Linked DNA regions of Homo sapiens: regions 2, 3, 4 and 5 are each linked to region 1. Evidence: promoter capture Hi-C in 16 types of primary human blood cells and fetal thymus (Javierre and others, 2016). All regions are on one chromosome and are shown on one strand. The core of a region is centred on a gene start or on the middle of the fragment in contact, and the rest is flanking DNA. Distances in the headings are between cores, read along the strand shown.

Region 1 (2,656 bases), core at 75-2,574:
GCCTGTAATCCCAGCTGCTAGGGAGGCTGAGGCAGAGACTCGTTTGAATCCGGAAGGCAGAGGTTGCAGTGAGCCAAGACCGCACCACTGCACACCAGCCTGGGCAAAAGAAAGAGGCTCCGTCTCAAAAAATAAAAACAAAAAAACAAACAAACAAAAAAAACCCCAAAAAACTCCACAAACACCAGTTCTTTACTTTCCATTAAAAAAAACTGCATGAAGGAGATACAACTACTAAAAGCCTGCCTTTTAAAACATAAACACAGTAACTGTGAACGAAAAGGTGTTATCACTTGTAATCACAATCCACACACACTTGGCGACAACTCCGGGTATCACTGCACTCCAAATTTTACCTTCGGAAAATAAGCATTTTTAAGTATCCTACACGTGTTTGGCTATCTGAAATCAGAGTTGACAAGGGGGAAGAATGCAGAAAATTTCTCATCTGAAGTATACACCCTGAGTTAAAACCCCGCGGTTGAGAATTTCCTTTAAAATAGGATTATTAAGGATAAAAAGAAAAGCAGCGCTACACTTTTTCCCTCTCTCCCCCAAAGACAAGTCCAGGGATGAGAAAAAAAAAGTAATTCCTTACAGGAATTTACAGAGAACGCCACGGACAAATAACACGCAGGCGTCAGAATAAGTCCGAAAATTTGCTCCTTGCGCAGGTCCGCGTACCTGGGATCCTAAGCCTTAAATTACTACCCTGGGGGTCTTCCTTCAGAATCGGGGAATGAGACACAGGGAGGAGGGGGTGCACGGCGTGGAAAAGTCACAGAGGCAGAAAAAACAATGGGAGAGGGAGGCGGCGGCGGCGGCAAAACGCTAAGACCCAGGCTCCGGCGAAGCGGCTACGCCTGCGGGAAAGCAAAATAGTTGAGTAACTTAAAAAATGAGGAAATTCCGGGTGTTCTGCGGGGAAGGACGGAGGGCCTTGAGAAACAGGGAGGCTGCGGCGGAAAGAGGGGCGGTGTCGTCGGAGAGCAGGGTCGACGATGGAAAGCGAGCAGCGGCGGGAGCGGAAAGCGAGGACATGGACGTGGGCGGGGAAGAAGACCCAGAGGCCTCTGGGGGTCCGCGAAACTGAGAAAACCCGACGGGGGCGAAAGGGGGTCGGGTAGCGCGGTACCTGCAGAGATCGTCCAGGACGCTGCCGGGAATCTCCACCCGTTTGGTCTCCATGATGAGGACCCACAGCAGGAACAGTGCATCCCGGCTCCGCGCGGCCGGGGACTGACGGTACGGCACTAGGACTCCGGCTCGCCGGAGAGCTGGCAGCCGAGGAAGCCGCGGCAGAGACGACTCCAACGGAGACGAGAAGGGGAAGGGGCGGGACCCGCTCACTTCCGTCCCGCTCCCTCAGCCTTGGACCCCAAGACTGGGCCAAGGCTCGGGGCGGAGCCCCCGGAGTCACGCCCCTGCTCGCTTGAAAGGCCCAATGGGAAGCTGAAGAATTGGGACTCTAAGCACTCTAAGCCAATGAGACGTTTGTTTATTGGTCTGCTACTTCCAATCCGTCTTCAAGCTGCTCAGTTGCTACTCAGAAAACCAACTTCCCGCCGCCTTTGAGGTGGCTACACGCATGCGCACCATGCCTCCTGCGCGCTTCTGGGAAGTTCAGAGGGGTCGGGGCTTAGGTGTAGACCCCGGACACATATCCGGGACTTTGGCATGTTGTGCAGGACCTCGCGGTGACTGAGCTCTTTCCTCTGCAGGGCCGACCCTGAGAATCCGTACAACACAAGAGTATGCTCGCGATTCCTGTCACCAAGTATCTTGCACTTATCGCAGCCCCCACCAACTCCAGGCCAAGAGCTGTGCCTCTTTCACTACAAACCCTTGGAGAGGGTATCCATTTTGGAGGTGGCTCTCCTCTGTGCTTCCTTAGGCACCTGGTTCCAAACATGAAGACAAGGACTTTATCTCAGTATCTGGCACCTAGCAAAATCTTAGAAAATACTGATTTAAGCTGAACTCTGATCTGTATTCCACCCTCTGCACAAAGCAATCCCCACCTGCTCGTCCTTATTCATTCCTCGTCTTGCTTAATGGAGACCAATCCATTTGGGATCTTTGGAGAAACTAGATCCATCTGTTCTTTTTCCTCTTACATCAGACCCACAGGCCCACACACACCTGCTCCGTCACAAGTTTAGTCTGTTCTACCATTTAATCTCCCATCTTTTGTCTAAATTTGTCACATGCCACTGTGTACTTCAGTTTTGCATCATTTCTCCATACTACAGTGAGAGCTGCCTAACCACTGACTCTGCCTCCATTCTTGGCCTGTGCAACTGCCTACATTTTGTTTTGTTTTACTCAGATAGGAACAAGTTATCTTTTCAGTTTCTGCTGTATGATCAAGCCCAAGTTCCTTTGGCATAAGAGGCCCGTCACCATCTATTTTGCTCCCGTTTTCCATCTTTTTTTTCCCCTCTTTCTTGGAGAATTCCTCAAATTTATCTTCCTGACAACTACAGAGTTTTTACTTATTTAGAGTTCTGTTTTGTTCTTCAAATGCCCCTTTCTTGTGGTGTCACATTCTTGCTTTGTATATTTTATTTTATCCTTCTGAGGATATTAATAATAGATTTTGACGTTTTCTTCTCCCTGAGTAGTCTTATTCCTCTCAGCTGCTTTTTGCTATTAT
Region 2 (2,656 bases), core at 65-2,564, 630 kb before region 1:
TAAGATTATTTTTATTTCTTAAACATTAAAGCCACTTGCACTGAAAGGCATTATAGCTTTTATATTTGCTTTAAAAAATACTTGATTTAAATGTGTATTTTTCTTTGAGCCAATCAATTAGAGCTGTTTTATAGACATTACACACAACACATATTTAGCTATACAGACAGACAGAAGATTCAGTACTTGTAAGATTTTTCATTTGCCAGTTTCTTAACTGAATTACTGGCTTCAGGGTAGAGCCCTTGGAGGAACAGGGCTAGGAAAGCACTCATTTCTAGGGTCTAATAAGCAGGCACAGCTGAAGGCAAAGACAGATCCCCAAAATTAAGGGTGCCATTTTATACTGGATCCTGGATCCCCAAAAGGAGAGAAATACTATAGAAGAAGATAGTGCAGTGCTTCTACCATGCATTTTATTGCAAGGCAAAGCAAAGCCAATAAGCCTATTTTGTAATCAGCCCATCCCCCATGGGAGTCTCATCTCTTAGTGGGGGTAGGGATGTTTCCATATCTTCCAGGTGGTCAACAGCGTGCTTCTCTGATCCAAATGTGCAAAGAGTCAAGTATCCCTCCATAACTACTAGTAGCCATCCCTTAAAGTATATTTCCTACCTCGTTAGTACACACCAAAGGTCTCTCTAATGTGAAGCAATTTCTGATACTCCCCAAACTCTAAACCGTCAGATAACACAATGCAAAATAGAACAGAGCCTTTCATTTTGAGAGGGATTTATCCGCTTTTAATTCTGGGATTTCATGAGGAAAACAGAGGTTTTTTTCCAAAACAGGGTCTCTGGCATCTCCTCTGTTTTTCCAAAGGAATTCCAGGCTACCAAAAGTTATCTTAGGCCATCTCATGTGTGCATTAAGAGTGGCAAGACAGGCTGGGTGCAGTGGCTCATGCCTGTAATCCTAGCACTTTCACAGGCCAAGGCACATGGATTGCCTGAGCTCAGGAGTTTGAGACCAGCCTGGGCAACTCGGTGAAACCCCGTCTCTACTAAAATACAAAAAATTAGCTGGGCATGCTGGCATGCGCCTGTAGTCCCAGCTACTTGGAAGGCTGAGACAGGAGAATTGCTAGAACCTGGGAGGCAGAGGTTGCAGTGAGCCGAGATCGTGCCACTGCACTCCAGGCTGGGTGACAGCGTAAGACTCTGTCTCAAAAAAAAAAAAAAAAAAAAAAAAAAGAGTGGCAAGACAAAAAATGGAGAAAAATAATTCAGTCAACTGAGAATAAAAACCTTTTTCCAGAAAAACAAGACCCAAGAAAAGAAAAACGTATAGGCCTTTAAAATATACCTGTAGCTTGAATATCCACTTTTAATTAAGCTGAGCTCTCTTTAAGAAAATCATTTAAGATATCTTGTTACTCAACATTAGCCACACCAAGTGGTTAAGATTTTTGGCTTTTGAACTTTACCAAAAGTAACCTCACAGGTGAAACCAATAAGCCTCCATTAGGTTATGACTTAACTGCAAGTGTATGAGGTATTCTCAAAGGGGCGGTAAGCAACTTTTGAAACTGTCATTGCAAAATGACTGAGACGGTAAAAGAGGTCCAACCCAACCAACTCCATCTTGCTTCCAGCCCCCAAGCTGTCCTTGCCCATCCCTAGGCATAGGCCAAACCAACTCTGGGAGGAGCCTAGTTTACAGTTTATAGCCTAAAACAAAGATGATAGCAACTCCTTCCCAAAATAAGCCTCCCTCTTGTCTGGGCACTAGACCAAGAAACTAGCCACAAGATTAGAAACCATGGCTCAGGAGTCGTGCAGCTGGAAGCTGCAAGATTCTGACCCTCCCTAAACTGCTCCCAAGATCAGTGCTCAAGATACTTGGCAAACCCTGCCCTTGATGGATCAGCTGGCACCACCCAGATTGACAAACTGGCTCATCTGATTTTGTAGCCCCCACTCAGGAAGTGACTCAGCACAAGAAGACAGCCACCACTGTAGAATGGCAGAGACTAAAACAAAATATTGCCACGTAGTCACAGCTCATGTTCCCAAGGACATAAAACAAGATGGAGGCCTGCAGCAAACTTCATCACCGATCATTTTGTAGGGCTGGCTTGAACAGCAGGTTTATGAGGTCCCAGTCCTAAGGCACCCTTTCTTTTGACAGAACCATGCAGAAAGACATGCAAAGCACACCAGATTGACGACAGCTTAAGACCAACTACACAAATCCTTTTTCATTAATTAAAACTTAACAGAGAATGTAATCAGTGATCCTTATTATCCCTTTTACCAGTTTGCCCAGAGACAGAGAGGCCAAAAGCCCAACTGGTTAAAAAAAAACTTTTACCGTTTTGCTGGCATGTCAGCTTCTGGGTTCCCTGCTCCTGAGCTCAACTCTAAGCGATGCACTTTAAGGTTTGGGGAACTTGACATTTCTCTGTTTGGAGGAACATTATAAAAGAAGGAATAGGAGCCATTTTAAACTGTGAAAGAAGGAAGGAGAAATACCATAGAAAAGTCTAGCGGTTTGGGTAGTAGAACTGGAGGAGCTGACATGTGGATGGGGGGCAGGAAGGGCCACAGCATCTGGAAGTTGCATTCGAGGGTTGCATTCAAGGGTTTCCTGAGGGTTTGTTTCTCTAATTTTGGGGAATCATTTTCTTTGGGCCCTCCTGATATGACTGGTAAAA
Region 3 (2,656 bases), core at 103-2,602, 610 kb before region 1:
TACTGTGAAACCTAGCATATTCGATGTTGGGTTTTTTTCCAAGGAACTCTCTTAAGCAACTATATCTTCTTATCTTGAAAATTATTAAAATATTTTTTCTTCTAAGATTTCTAGCTAACATATTTCTTCAAAATCATTATTATAGAATAAAAATGAAATTATTCTCACACAATTGAAAAGAATCCCACTTCATAGTACTCCTGTGGAATGATAACCTATGATAAGCACTTAAGAAGAACCCAAACACTTTTTACATGGTGATTTGAAACGAGTCATACTGGTTCAGATAAATTATTAGCTGTGTGACCTTAGGCAAAACTAATCTTTGAGTCTATTTTCTCCTATATAAAATTGGACTAATAATTTAATCATAAGAAATAAATTATATCTTCTAAAGCAGCTAGCATAGTATTTGGTCAATATACATTAATTTCCATCATCTTAACTAGCTTAAAATGCATGTAAATAGCATCATGAAGACAAAGCAAAACACAATAGAAATAAACAAGCCACTAGAATATAAAAAGGTTATTTACTTTACATAATTAAAGCCAAAGAGAAGTTAAATACTATTGTCATCTTGAGACTCTGACTGCAAGGAGCAATCAGACACATTTACAAGTAGGTTTTTACTATCTTTTTACAAACCTGAACCCCTGTTTCCCATGTGCATATGGAATATAAAATTTGTACTCTTACATTTTCTCCTCAATTAAAGCACTGGATAACAGAAAACAAACAGAAACAAAAGTAAATAAAAAAAAAAATGCCATTGTATACCTGCCCATCCCTGCTTATCTGCACTTTCTTGTTGTCATTCCATGGATTGAGTAAATGGTGTGCAAATTGAAAGGGAAGGCTTTCTTTTCGTATCCACTCCACCTTAAATACTCCTCCTAGTCCAGCAGAGCCCCAGTCCTGACTCTTTTCCCTTCCAATCTCAGAAGACATCCTAGAAAATCCCTGTAGGTAAAATGGGAGGAAGGAATAGAGGTGAGGAGGAGATTAGCATGTCTAAATTTAATTTATCTGAGAAGGCTGAGTTTTTAAAATTTTAAGATTAAGATATAATATTGAAATAACAGATACCTAACAAAAACAAAAAATAAGCTACTAAATTTTTCATTAAAAGCTCTCTTAGCAAATTTTAGAAAAAAACAGTTCTAGCCTCCTAACAATTTCAAATATCAATAATGATTTCTAAATAAAATAGCAAAGTCCATATTTTTATTCCATGATAAATGGATACAAGCTAACCTCTAAGCTTTCATTTCCAAAAATTATAATAAACATCAAATAATAAATGTATTATTTTATAAATTCAGGTATACATTAAGTCAAGATGGGTGATGGGTTAAGAAACATACTTAGTTTACTGATTGTCAATACTAACTTCCTTGGCCTATTTAAATAAATATTTTACCAAAAGGTCAAGCTTCTCATTACTTTGAATCCACTTGAGAATTAGTAAATCTAAAGTTGTCTTCAGAAGGAAACATAGTTTACCTGGAAAGACTCTGGTAAGACAAGGCAAAAACAAAGAGGATTCCAGTTCTATCATCCTCTAAAGAGATGCAATATATCCCTTATTCTCAGTCAAGCAAAAGGCATTCTTGCATTCTGATGCAATGAAAAGCCAGTTGTTTTTCTAAAAATCTCTATGATTTAACCTATAGCCAGAACAACCCCATTTTACTGATTCAGGGTGGCTCACCTGGAAATGTCCAGATCCTTGAACAGAAAATACCAAGTAAACTATGCTGCTTTCCCAAAAGGCTCGATTTAGCTTCCGTTCATTACTAGGAGTTGTAGACCAGATACCCTTCTGTTGAGAAATTTCAAGGTTTCTCAAATTGCTACTCTTCATTATGAAGTATCGAACAGGCATGTTTGGTCTTGGCGAAGGAGATTTTGAGCCCTATAAAAGAAAACATAAGTTCTTGAAAGGTAACCTGACCTTTCAAAACCAAGAGGCTCCATTAAATAACATCTTCATAAACATATAAGCCAAAATATTTTATCATATATTCAACAAATGCAAATAGCTCTATCATGTCTGAAACCTACACAAGACTCAACCAAAATAAAGTTAGCCAAAAACAAGTACTCATTTTCAGAGCATTCAAAATCCCTTATCAACAAAGGCTCCTGGAGTACCAACTTTGGTTTATACCTCAAATATACTTTCAGAAATTGTTTTAATAAACTTTCAAAATCAGAAAACAAAACAAATACTTCTCCAGCTTACTGCCTGGAGGCAGTTTTCAGAGGACAAAGAAAAACAGAGTCCAGTGGTCTCATTAAGTTGTGCAGAAAGACACTGGAGTTCAGAGACCGAAGTGGCTACTGTGCATGGCAATGTACTATCTTAGACAGAAAGGAGCTGCACATAAAGAGAGCTCCAAAGGAAACACAGAGGGGTTCCCACAAGTTTTTGGCTAAGTGCTGACCTGAACATGAGTGAGAAAAAAGATAAATAACCCAAGGCTAGGGAAAGATCCAAAGGAAAACAAGTAGACCAAACAATTCCTAGAGCTCACTCATGGCTGGGAATATTTCGTGTTATCTTCAGCCAGAACAGATAGAACCTGTAATATATATGGTACTGGCCCACAGAAGGGCCATACCTTAGTATTGGAACTAAATTAATAACAGA
Region 4 (2,656 bases), core at 76-2,575, 550 kb before region 1:
AGTTTCTTCTTAAAAAGCAAAGAGTATAATATTTACGAATTAAATTCACAAGTATCCTTTCATATCTAGTAAAATGATACACATAACTGTTGAAAACAGGCATCCATAATTCTCATATATAGATATCATTAGCAAGGACATTCAAATAATTTAAACAAAGACCTATTTATTACATTTTATCGAAACTTCCATAATCTCTATTCTATATAATTAGAACTGCTACAATTAATACTTAATGGCAAAATTACTCACCCTAAAAAAATTATAACAATCTAAGACAGCTAAACAAATTCTCTGGAGTAACTCCATGGAATTTCACTTAATCATAAAAGCACTCATGCTGGGTCAGGCGTGGTGGCGGGTGCCTGTAATCCCAGTTACTCAGGAGGCTGAGCCAGGAGAATCGCTTGAACCTGGGAGGCACTGAGGTTGCAGTAAGCCGAGATAGCACCACTGCACTCCAGCCTGGGTGACAGACAGAGACTTGGTCTCAAAAAAATAAAAAACAAACTCATGCTAAAGAAAGATCTTGTATAGTCTTCAGAAAAAAATTTCATCATGTTTTTAATTATTCAGTTTTACAGGATCAAGTTTTAAGGATAAACAGATATAATTCTGTAAAAATGTTTAAGTCCTTCAAGTAAAAAACTGGTAAAGTTTATACTCAACTTCTCCTCCCACCTTGCCTTATCTACTAAGCCTATTAAACTAACCAATATAATCACAGGAAATTTTAGGCAATTGTCAAAAGCAAAATTATGTCCCTAAAAGAAGAAAACCTACAAATATTCTATTTATTATTTTATCTGAACCTCTATTAAAAGCAAACTAATTTTAGTAATTTTAAGCTGAAATGCCGCAAGAATGTACACAAGAGTCATATGATGTCATACTTACTACTTCCAATCTGTTATCCTATGAGTAAAACTTCATAAGGAGGTACTTTGATTCTAAAAATGCAAGTCAAACCTATCATATTAATTCCATTCTACAGTCAACTTTATATTAATATTTGTTATTACTGCTTTTACTTTGGTTCCTATATGCAAAATGCTATGCTAGGCACTTTACAGAGATAATCTCTACACCTCACTGTGAAAGGTAGCAATGATTAGTCCCATTTTATAAATGAGAACTCTGGCTCACAGAGGTTACAAAAAGAGCCTGGAACTTCAATAACTGAGGGAACTGGAATCTAAATTCAAGGCCAAAGCCCATCTTCTTTCCATGATACCAAATCAGTTTCCCAACTCTGTTTAAATAAAGGCCTAATGCACTAGTTTAAAAATAAGTAAATTATTTAAAACATTTTCTTTCTACAAATTCTCCAAATATATTCCAGTAGTAATTTACTTCTGAAATAACCATTACTATAATAACCACAAGTTTCTTTTTCTGTTTTTTTAAACATATGCAGTGTAAATTTGATATAAAATTATAATATGGGACTATATATATATATATATATATATTTTTTTTTTTTTTTTCTATAAACAACAAAAAAGAAACAAACCTGTGTGGTCTTTCCAGACCCAGTTTCTCCTACAATCAAAACTACTTTATTTTCCTTAATTATTTTAACAATTTCTTCCTGTTTCTCAAACACTGGTAAAGACTGCCTAAAAGAATCAAATTCGGATTCTCCTCTTTTCACTGGAATCTGAGGTATGCCATTGTTGAGTCGCCCACTTGTCTTGCTCATTTCCCGGTTTTCTTTGAAAATGAATAAAAGAACAAAAAATGTATGATCAACACGGAAAAAGAAGTGTTAAAAATAAGTAATTTTTTTTGCCAAACCTAGAAAAACATGCCAAAAGACATAATTTCTAACATAATTCCTTTCAAATGTTTTCTTCTCTACTCAGTCTACATAAAGTTGTCAAGCAATATCTCAATTGTACTCTTACACATAATATTCTCATTGAACATGTTACAAAATTTCAATATCAATTAGAAAGTGAACCTCAGACATATTTCTGGTACATAATGTTTAAAAATTGATAAAAATAAATCATTCAATAACCATTAAAAATAAAACAATCTTGATAATCTAGATGATTTTTAGGCTTGTTATAAATTTCTATCAATAATTTCATGGAAAATTAAATTTTTGTAGTAGGAAATAATGTACATTATACTTATAAGATCTGTCACGTACATTACGAAAACATATTACAAAAAAAAGAAAATATCCCATATATGTTTAATGCTATACATGTAAGATTAAGTGATCAAATAGAATAATTATGTGTTAAATATAAAGGTCCTAATGTTAACAAATTTCCTAATGGCGTATTTTAGCCAACATCCACATTTAACTAAACAGATAGGAATAAAGAAGAGGTATGAAATGTTTTATATTCATGTAGCTCAAAATATGTTTGTGTGCCTATATTTAAAGTGAAAGTTCTTTGATATCTAGGACCACATATTTTCTATATTCTGCTGATCTATTCCAATAGACAATAATAACTATGTAAATTTTATCACTATAGGCAATAAATAGTTTTCTTAATAGGGAAGTGATCTTTCCAAATAGTAAAATTACATCTTTATTTTATAACCCAAATACATTATCTACCTACTTTTGAGCAACTTAATGTACTGAAGACTCTGTCCAATCTCTTACCAGAGCTAAAGCCCCAGTTCAAAATCT
Region 5 (2,656 bases), core at 68-2,567, 560 kb after region 1:
TCCCCTAACTGCGACTCGCATTAACTCGCTGCTGGTTCCCAGCTGGAGAGCACAGATTGCACCTGCTCCGAAGCCCAGCGGGGCTCAGTGTCGTCCGCAGCTCAACCTCGGCTGCCTGTGCACGGACATCGGGACCCACCAGGGGTCACTGCAGCTTCAGAGCTATTGTGCCCCTCAGTCCTGGACGCGGCCGACCGCGCGGAGGGCGTGGGATTGGGACCGCCGAACCGTGGGGTCCGAGCAGCACCGCGTCCTCTTCTCCCCACCCAGCCTCCAGGTCTCTCGGGGGAAGGACGCAGCGAGCGCTGGACTGCCCCGCGGCTTGGGCGCAGTGTGCGGCTTGGCAGCGTGGACTCGCCGGCACCTCGCCGCTGGGACCACGGTCTCTGCCCCGCCCTCCGCCCCCAGCTGATACCCCGCCCAGAAGGGGCTCCCCTGCCGCGGCCAGCGCTGGACTGGGGGGTCCGCTTCGTTCCAGGGCTTTTTGCAGACGCCTGGACCGGGCCCACATGCACCTGGGCTGCTCCCGCCCGGGGCGCCACCACTCGCGCGGCCAAGAGAACTTTCCCCGGAGCCTCTGCGGCCTGGCGCGCCCAGGGCGCACCCCCCGCTCGCCCGTCCGCCGCGTTCCCAGCTGGGGCGTCGCTCCTCCGCCCGCAGGTCCCCGCCTCCCCGCTTTGCTGAATGTCCTGAAGAAGCCGTATTCCGCCGCCGCGGCAGGCATTCCCGGAGGGAGAGCTTGAACTTGGCTACACACGGCCACCCGTAATGAGCTCGGGAGTCCCCGGACGGGAGCCACACCCCGCGACGAGCTGACCTCCCCTCGCTGGTCTGGGTAAGGAGCCTGCTGCCCTTTCCGCCTCTCTTCCGGCTCCTCGGCGCTTGCGGCTGGGGGACGGGGTAGCGGACGGAGCGACGACCTTCGCCTCTGCCCCTGCGCCCATGGTCGGGGCGTCGTGGGTGCTCCTCACACAAAAGAAAAGCCGAGCGCTTCATACTCGGCGGATCTGACCCGGGGCTGCGGGGCGGGGTCGCGGCTGGAAGTGCGCGCCCGCGGGGGACTCCGCAGGCCGATCGGACGCCAGGACGTCGGGGCCGCGCTCAAATCCGTGCGGCAGGAGGGAGGTGCAGCGCTTCCAGGGTTTTCCAAGGCCGGGGAGAGCCTCGAATTCCCATCACTCCTTTTTCTGGTCTCTTGCCCCCAGTGCCAGGAGACTTTTGTCGTCCCCAGGACTGCGGGAGGGGCCCCGCGCCCCCGCCTTCGGAGGAGCTCGAGCCGCAGGATGCGCGGGGACGCGCCACCGCCCTCCGCGCCCAGTTCCGCCGGCGCTTCCCCGGCGGCTCCCGGGCGCTGACTCTCCCGGGCTTTTCCGCCTTTCTCGCTCCCGCCCCGCCGGGCGGTTCGGCGGCCGGTCCCCGGACCCCGCCGGGAGCTGCTCGTCTCACCCTCGCCACGGCGCGGACAATAAATTAATGCATCGCGCTTGAGTGGAGGGGGCGGCTGGGCGCCTCGGTGGTAGCTTTCTCTCCTGGCTGGAGACGACCACAACCGACATGGGCTGTTTCTGCGCTGTTCCGGAAGAATTTTACTGCGAAGTTTTGCTCCTGGATGAATCCAAGTTAACCCTTACCACCCAGCAGCAGGGCATCAAGGTGGGTGCGGCCCGGAGCGCGTTCCGGGGGTTGGCGGCAGGGCGGGTGCGGGGGTCCATCGCTTTGAGGGCTGTCACCGGTGGGTCGAGGGCGGCGGCCGCGACTCTGCGCGGTGGGGAGGAGAGGCCGCTGTCCCCTGCGCGCAGGGAGAGGGTGGACGTACCAGGGTGAGTTAACTTTGAGTTCCTTCATAAAGCAAAGTTGAGTTTGACGTTTCTAAGTTTACTCAGCACACCGGCTCCCAGCAGCACCCCAAAACTCTTCCCCAAACCGGTTTTCTCCAAAAGCCTCTGGGTGCCCCGCAGCTCTCAAAGAGGGGCAGAATGGGTTATACCAGCTGCGTCCCACCAGTGTGGAAGGCATGGTTTCCCTCGACTTTGTTGAAGGCGTTTTCCTTGACAGTGTTATTAGGGAAGTGAACTAGTTCACTCGTTGAAACGCATTAATGGGTCATTGTGATTGTTTTGCGTGGGTTCGTAGTTGGGTAATGCTACGTTTGGACGGAAAATATTTTCCCTTTCTACAGCGACCTGGGTTTATCCTCACATTTAAGTAAACATCTCTCAAAGCGACCCAGTAATAACTTTGCTCCTGTTTGTGGGTCATTAAAATGCAATCACTACATTAACCTAGAGAGCCCAAACAAAAAGGCAGCAGAGCTCGCAGAGATCCTCTTCCTTACATTGGATGAGAAGGTACGTATGTTTGTAGTGACAACCTGACCGACGCGCCTGCGTGCTTGTTTTGCTTTTGCAACAGTGTTAACTACCTAAAGGAGATCTAAATCCGGAGCGTTTTGTTGTTTTGTTTATCTTTCTCTTTCAGTTTTAGATCGCTAAGGCATTTTAGATAAGGCAACAGCTGAGTCTGGTGAAGGGAAACCGCCCCCCCGCCCCCGCTCTGATAGAGCTGGCTTTCTGAGAAATCGAGTTCAGGCTGCCAAGTATCCTCTCTTAGTCGCTTCATCTCAGAAGTTAATCATAATGGGGTAGGCCCTGGGCAT

Evidence for each region. Contacts are between HindIII fragments. The CHiCAGO score rates a contact against its expected background, and 5 or more counts as called.
Region 2: a fragment that was not itself captured here is called in contact with the fragment with the promoter of DCP2 in region 1 in 5 of 17 cell types (naive CD4 T cells, total CD4 T cells, activated CD4 T cells and 2 more); the score reaches 10.9 in naive CD4 T cells.
Region 3: a fragment that was not itself captured here is called in contact with the fragment with the promoter of DCP2 in region 1 in 1 of 17 cell types (erythroblasts); the score reaches 5.2 in erythroblasts.
Region 4: a contact is called between a fragment that was not itself captured here and the fragment with the promoter of DCP2 in region 1, in 1 of 17 cell types (total CD8 T cells). The highest score is 5.7, in total CD8 T cells.
Region 5: a contact is called between the fragment with the promoter of EPB41L4A here and the fragment with the promoter of DCP2 in region 1, in 1 of 17 cell types (total B cells). The highest score is 6.3, in total B cells.

Annotation. Positions count from the first base shown.
Region 1 is chr5:112,975,466-112,978,121 of GRCh38, reverse strand. It overlaps DCP2 (decapping mRNA 2), which reads right to left and starts at 1,324. Exons shown (of 11, transcript NM_152624.6): 1 at 1,136-1,324. The coding sequence starts at 1,188. RefSeq lists enhancers at 874-983, 1,094-1,143, 1,154-1,243, 1,314-1,363, 899-1,658 and 2 more. The HindIII fragment of the contact is 6,686 bases long and covers 1-2,656 here.
Region 2 is chr5:113,607,574-113,610,229 of GRCh38, reverse strand. No RefSeq gene overlaps it. Among named protein-coding and RNA genes, the nearest start is that of YTHDC2, 95 kb to the right of the region's middle. The HindIII fragment of the contact is 6,590 bases long and covers 1-2,656 here.
Region 3 is chr5:113,590,303-113,592,958 of GRCh38, reverse strand. It overlaps YTHDC2 (YTH N6-methyladenosine RNA binding protein C2), which reads right to left. Exons shown (of 30, transcript NM_022828.5): 27 at 1,715-1,918; 28 at 781-963. Among named protein-coding and RNA genes, the nearest start is that of YTHDC2, 78 kb to the right of the region's middle. The HindIII fragment of the contact is 171 bases long and covers 1,267-1,437 here.
Region 4 is chr5:113,525,643-113,528,298 of GRCh38, reverse strand. YTHDC2 (YTH N6-methyladenosine RNA binding protein C2) reads right to left here. Exons shown (of 30, transcript NM_022828.5): 4 at 1,514-1,713. Among named protein-coding and RNA genes, the nearest start is that of YTHDC2, 13 kb to the right of the region's middle. The HindIII fragment of the contact is 5,116 bases long and covers 1-2,656 here.
Region 5 is chr5:112,417,938-112,420,593 of GRCh38, reverse strand. EPB41L4A (erythrocyte membrane protein band 4.1 like 4A) reads left to right here and starts at 1,317. Exons shown (of 23, transcript NM_022140.5): 1 at 1,317-1,653. The coding sequence starts at 1,555. EPB41L4A-DT (EPB41L4A divergent transcript) reads right to left here and starts at 1,011. Exons shown (of 1, transcript NR_027706.1): 1 at 1-1,011. RefSeq lists a silencer at 563-652. The HindIII fragment of the contact is 9,034 bases long and covers 1-2,656 here.